Linked DNA regions of Homo sapiens: region 1 is linked to region 2. The links are contacts of gene promoters, found by promoter capture Hi-C in blood cells and fetal thymus (Javierre and others, 2016). All regions are on one chromosome and are shown on one strand. The core of a region is centred on a gene start or on the middle of the fragment in contact, and the rest is flanking DNA. Distances in the headings are between cores, read along the strand shown.

Evidence for each region. The method cuts DNA at HindIII sites, captures the fragments that hold promoters and counts their contacts. A CHiCAGO score of 5 or more calls a contact.
Region 1: a fragment that was not itself captured here is called in contact with the fragment with the promoter of RANBP9 in region 2 in 1 of 17 cell types (monocytes); the score reaches 5.3 in monocytes.

The regions. Positions count from the first base shown.
Region 1 is chr6:12,945,161-12,947,860 of GRCh38, forward strand. All of the region lies in intron 4 of PHACTR1 (phosphatase and actin regulator 1), which reads left to right. Among named protein-coding and RNA genes, the nearest start is that of PHACTR1, 230 kb to the left of the region's middle. The HindIII fragment of the contact is 4,385 bases long and covers 1-2,700 here.
Region 2 is chr6:13,710,519-13,713,218 of GRCh38, forward strand. It overlaps RANBP9 (RAN binding protein 9), which reads right to left and starts at 1,317. Exons shown (of 14, transcript NM_005493.3): 1 at 417-1,317. The coding sequence starts at 987. It overlaps LOC124901264 (a long non-coding RNA gene), which reads right to left and starts at 2,236. Exons shown (of 2, transcript XR_007059462.1): 1 at 2,165-2,236; 2 at 1,834-2,023. RefSeq lists silencers at 262-381, 642-691, 772-891, 1,052-1,821. The HindIII fragment of the contact is 8,985 bases long and covers 1-2,700 here.

The DNA.
Region 1 (2,700 bases), core at 67-2,566, 770 kb before region 2:
TTTGCCTCCTTTATTCCCATCTGACTAACTCCTACTTCTCTTTTAGGTCCCCATATAAAACCACTTCCTCCAGAAAGCCCTCCCTAATCACTCCCCCAGATTCATTGTCTTTCTGCTATGCGCTGCCACAACTGTCTCTGTTTCCCCTATGATAGCTCTTACTGCATTTTGTGGTTATTGCATGTTTACTTATCCACTGTTCAGTCAAAACTGTAAGTTTCATGAAAGCAGGAATTATGTTCATCTTGCTGTCGAGAATATTTTCTCAGTACATTCTCCAGTGCCTGGCATGGTGCTAAATAAATATTTTCCAAGTCCATGAATAAGGACAGATGAAATAAAATGTGAATGAGTGAAGAAGATTTGAATAAATCAGGGATTCCCAGTGTACGGTCATTAAATGCTAATTCTTACGGGTTTCTAGAAAAAGAGGAATCTGGTGTTTAGGAAACACTGGGTAGCAAAGCCAACCTGATTTACCTGCTGCAGGACTTCTCAGAGCATTTTAAATGCTGAAGTTCAGCTGGGTACAGTGGCTCATGACTGTAATCCCAGCATTTTGGGAGGCGGAGGCAGGCAGATCACCTGAGGTCAGGAGTTCGAGACCAGCCGAGCCAACATGACAAAACCCCAACTTTACTAAAAATACAAAAATTACCCAGGCGTAGTGGTGGGTGCCTGGAGTCCCAGCTACTCAGGAGGTTGAGGCAGGAGAACTGCTTGAACCCAGGAGGTGGAGGTTGCAGTGGCCAAGATCGTGCCACCGCACTCCAGCCTGGGTAACAGAGCAAGACTCTGTCTCAAAAATAAATAAATAAATAAATAAATAAATAAATAAATGCTAAAGTTCATGAAACCTCCAAGGCGGGGGTGGAAGTGGATCTAGTATACAGTATTACACCAGATTACCAGATTTCTTTTCTTCAGTAGACATCTCACAAGACCAGTATTCTGAGGAGCATATATTGGGAAATGCCACAAAAGATAAAGAATAAAGAAATGCCTTGTCCAGTGAGAAGGTGGGTAGGGAAAGATGAAAAGTGTGTAGAATACTAAGTAGACTATAATAGCAGAAAATGTGGCATCAGGGAGGGATGGAGTGAAAAATGAGCAGGAATGTAGTGAAGGAAGTTGGGTGCCATGCTAAACAACTTGAACATTATGCTGTCAAGGGAGTGATATTAACCTTTGAGAAAGGGTGTCATGTACTAACCTGGTTTTAGGAAGCCAATTCTGGTGGCGGTGTGAAAAACAAAGCTCCGAGATATGAGCGATTTGCAAATGGGAAACCAGTTAGATTATTGCAGAAGACCTGGTAAGAGAGGGTAAGGATGTGAATTGGGAAAATTGCAAGTGGTGTAGAAGAGAAGGCTCTAGAAAAATAGATTAAAAGATCAGAAGTGAGATCATCCAGGGAAAAGTAAGGCCAAAAAATGGCTTGAGAGAGAACTCAACATTTAAGAAGCAGATAAATGGAGAAAAAGCAAAGAAATAAGAAGTACAGTTGAAGCAAACAAATGAAAAAGTAGCTTAGAGTAAGTGGTATTGCAGAAAGAGAGAAAAGAATTGCAGTGTGGTGTCCAATATGGTAGAGGGCTCAGAGTCAAAAGAAGCATTACACATACAGTGCAATGATGGTGCTGGATTTTTTTTTTTTTTTTTTTTTTTTTGAGATGGAGTCTTGCTCTGTCGCTCAGGCTGGAGTGCAGTGGCACAATCTCGGCTCACTGCAACCTCCACCTCCCCGGTCCAAGCAATTCTCCTGCCTCAGCCTCCTAAGTAGATGGGATTAAAGGCACCCACCACCACGGCTGACTAATTTTTGTATTTTTAGTAGAGATGGGGTTTCACCATGTTGGTCAGCCTGGTCTCAAACTCCTGATGTCGTGATCCACCCGCCTCGGCCTCCGAAAGTGCTGGGATTACAGGCGTGAGGTATGCCCGGCCGATGGTGCTGGATTTTTAGTGGAGGTCCCCTAGATCATTAATATAATTTTGTAACATTCCAACTTCTAGATTAAAAAAAGGAATACCCATAAATTACCACGTGGCAAGCCAAGTTCTTTCTGCTAGATGCTTACTATGCCTCTTTCTACTGCACTGTTGAGACAGGATGGTCTGCATAACCCAGCACTTTATCTGGCTTCCCAAGTATAACCTGAAGAAACATAACTATTCTGCTTTTTTTTTTTTTTTCTGTGATGACAACAGTTGCCTCATGATTTTCACATCAGTTAATGTAGAGGGAAGTGGTTTACTGCAGAGGGTTCAATGAGAAATAAAGAAGACATGGGAAAAACATCTGAAAAAACAACATTCTTATTTTTGAATGGATGATGAATTAGTGACTTGGGAGGAAAAAACTAAATCAAAAGTAGTGAGACTTTAAGGAAATATTTAGAACATTTCTTTGAAAGCATAAATGTGGGAGCCAGACGCTCCTGGGTTTGCATCCTGACTCTAGTGGCTATAAATTATATGACCTTTGGGGAAAGAAATGGTAGATCTTGCCAGGGGCTGTGGTAAGCAGTAGACTTCCGTGAATTATTTAATCCTCACAATCACCCTAAGGAAAAGTGAGGCTCAGAAAGGTCTAAACAATTTAAATACGTAGTAAGTGACAGAGTCAGATTCAAACCCAGGGTCATTTGATGACAAAGCAGTTATTTTCCACCAGTCTGAAAACTTTATGAGGCAGAA
Region 2 (2,700 bases), core at 67-2,566:
CCCCCTTGTAAGAGGAGAACGCCTGACCCACCACCTGGAGAACAATGTAACCCAACTCCGAGTCCATGGATTCCTCTACCCAAGCCCCAAGATTTATCTCCCAGGGAAATCAGAAAGCCAGTTCTGTCCTGTCATCCCGGATTCCCTCAAGGTGTCCTGCTCCTGGTCTAGGATTACCAGCTCCTTTCTACCCTGGGGCATTCTACTCACCTTCCTTTTCCAAGAATCTCGCCCCTCACCCTCGGACCCTTCACCGCGACCCCCGCGCCCACCCGGAGCAGCACAACAGGCGGCGAGTGGCCTCCGAGGGCAGAGCCCGCGAGGGCGGGGGTCGGGGGCGGGTCGAGAGCGGCGCAGCGGCGGCCGGCCACGTCGGGTCAGTGCCCCACTCCCACCGCAGGACACACGCCCAGTACCTTTGTAGTGCACCCGCAGGTTGTTCTGAGAGAGGCCGATGTAGCTGAACTTGTCCTTCGGGCTCCAGGACCGAGGCAGCGGCGTCTCTTGTTCGTCCACGGCCGGGTAGAGACGCTTCAGCCGCCGCTGCAACTCCTTCTCCTGCTCGTTCAGGGCCGAGTCCCCGTGAGGGAAGGGGGCCGCGGCGCTGCTGCCCGCCACCAGAGCTGGGGTCGGGGCTCCTCCAGCCGGGCCGGGGCCCGCTGCAAGGCCCGGGGGAGCGGGCGGCCCGCTGGCGGGGGCAGCCGCTGAGGCAGGGGGAGGCGGGGGCGGCGGCGGGGGCGGCGGGGCCGCGGTGGCCGGGGGCGGCGGCGGCGGAGGGTGGAGGAGCAGGGCGGCCGCCGCGGCCCCTAAGCCTTCGCCGCCCGCACCGCCGCCGGGCGAGCCGGCCGGAGAAGAGCCGGCGCTGACGGCCGGGGGCGCCGGCAGGACGACTCCGGAGACTGGGGCCAAGGCCGCCGGCGGTGGCGGCGACAGCTGCTGCTGCTGTTGCTGCTGCTGCGGCGGCGGCGGCGGCGGCTGCCCGGACATCCCGGCCGCGACTCAGCCTGCGGCCACCTCCACCTCTTCTCTCCTTCCTCCTCTGCTTCCCGGGGGCGCTGTCGCTGCGGCCGCCGGCACCAGGCGCCCAGTCCGCCCGCCCCGGAAGCAGGCGGCGGGCCGCGCGCCCAGGGAGACCGCGGCGGTTGAGGAGCTCGGAGACGCGGGAGTAGGCGGCGGGCCCGGGAGGCCGGGAGAGAACGTTGGCCGGAGCGCGGGCGCGCGGCCCGGGGACGAGGCGCCGAGGGCGGGGGCGACGCGGGAGCGCGGGAGGGGAAGGCGCGCTGGCGGCCGCCGCGGCCGCTGCTCTCGCGGCTGTTTCCCGGCGGGCGGGCCGGGCCGGCGCGAGACGCTGCGCGCGGGCGGCGCTAGGCGAGGGGGCGGGACGGAGGCGCGAGAGAGGCGCGAGCGGTGCGAGGGGGCGGGCCGCGGGGCTCCCGGCTGTGCGCCGCGAGGCGTCCTCCCGGGCCCGCCAGTCGCTCGTGGGCAGGATCGCTGGGCTCCCGGCGCCGCAGGTCCCTTCGGAGGTGTCCGCCTCCTCTCCCTTGGCGGCCGCCGTCGCCCCCCTCGCCGGCGAATCCCCTCCCACTTGACTTCTTTTTGTTGTCGTCGCCCCACCTCCCCACCGTAGGGCTCCTCGGAGCCGAGGCGCCGCTTCTCGTCCAGGCGAGAGTAATCGAGCCCCGCTGGGGCCGCCGCGAGCCCAGGCCCCGGGGCGCTCTAGGACCCGTCGGCCCGGGGCGTGCGGAGCGGCTCAGGCTCCCCGCGCAGTGCTGCTAGCTCTCGCCTCAGTCCCGTTCCCGTTTGCCGCCTCCCTCCAAAGAGGAACGCATTGCCTTTGGTACTTCAGTGTTTAATTCCGTAGCATTGACCATATGGGCAGTAGAAACCACTTCTGAAGGCAGTCTCCCACTTAGAATAGTGACTGTTTCATTAATTAATTTTACGAGGACTCACAGTGAACTTAACAGTGGTAGAAGATGTCATTAATAAAGACCGGCATATCTTCAAAAAGCAGGAGCAGGCACTGTATGAATACAAGATTATAGTGTGTGTTTAGGAAGGGCTTCTAGAGACGTCAGAACATTTTATAGACTCGTTAATTTTCATAACAGGGTTCTTAGGTAACAGAAAATTATGCCCATTTTTAAAACAAGGAAATATTTACCGAGATCAGCAGAGTCAAAAATAGGACTTCCTACTTTGCAATTCCCAATAGAATGCTTCGTCGACTAATTTGGCACAACTTGCCAAGTGTTGCTCTCTGACCCATCATAACATTACTACTTTGTTTTCACCACTTCCCTTTGTTTAGCTTATCCCTCCCTAGCTGGCAAAATCAGGCTTTGCATATGTAAATTGTGTGATGTAAATTCTGATATTTTGTTTGCTTCCAAAGATATGATGGTAATCATTTGGTCAAATAAGAAATGTTTTGCCGAAGAGAAAATTATTTCGTTTTGAAGAAGGTAGGCCAAAGGTGATTTAATTTAAGGCCAAGATTATCTGGCCAGAACAAATAACAGAGTCATTCGGCCTAATTTCTCCCTCAGTTACCCAGACAACTAGATGTTCTGTTGTACTTTTATTATTATTATTATTATTGTTTTGTCGCCCAGGCTGGAGTGCAGTTGTGTGGTCTCAGCTCACTACAACTTCCGCCTCCCGGGTTCAAGCGATTCTCCTGCCTCAGCCTCCCAAGTA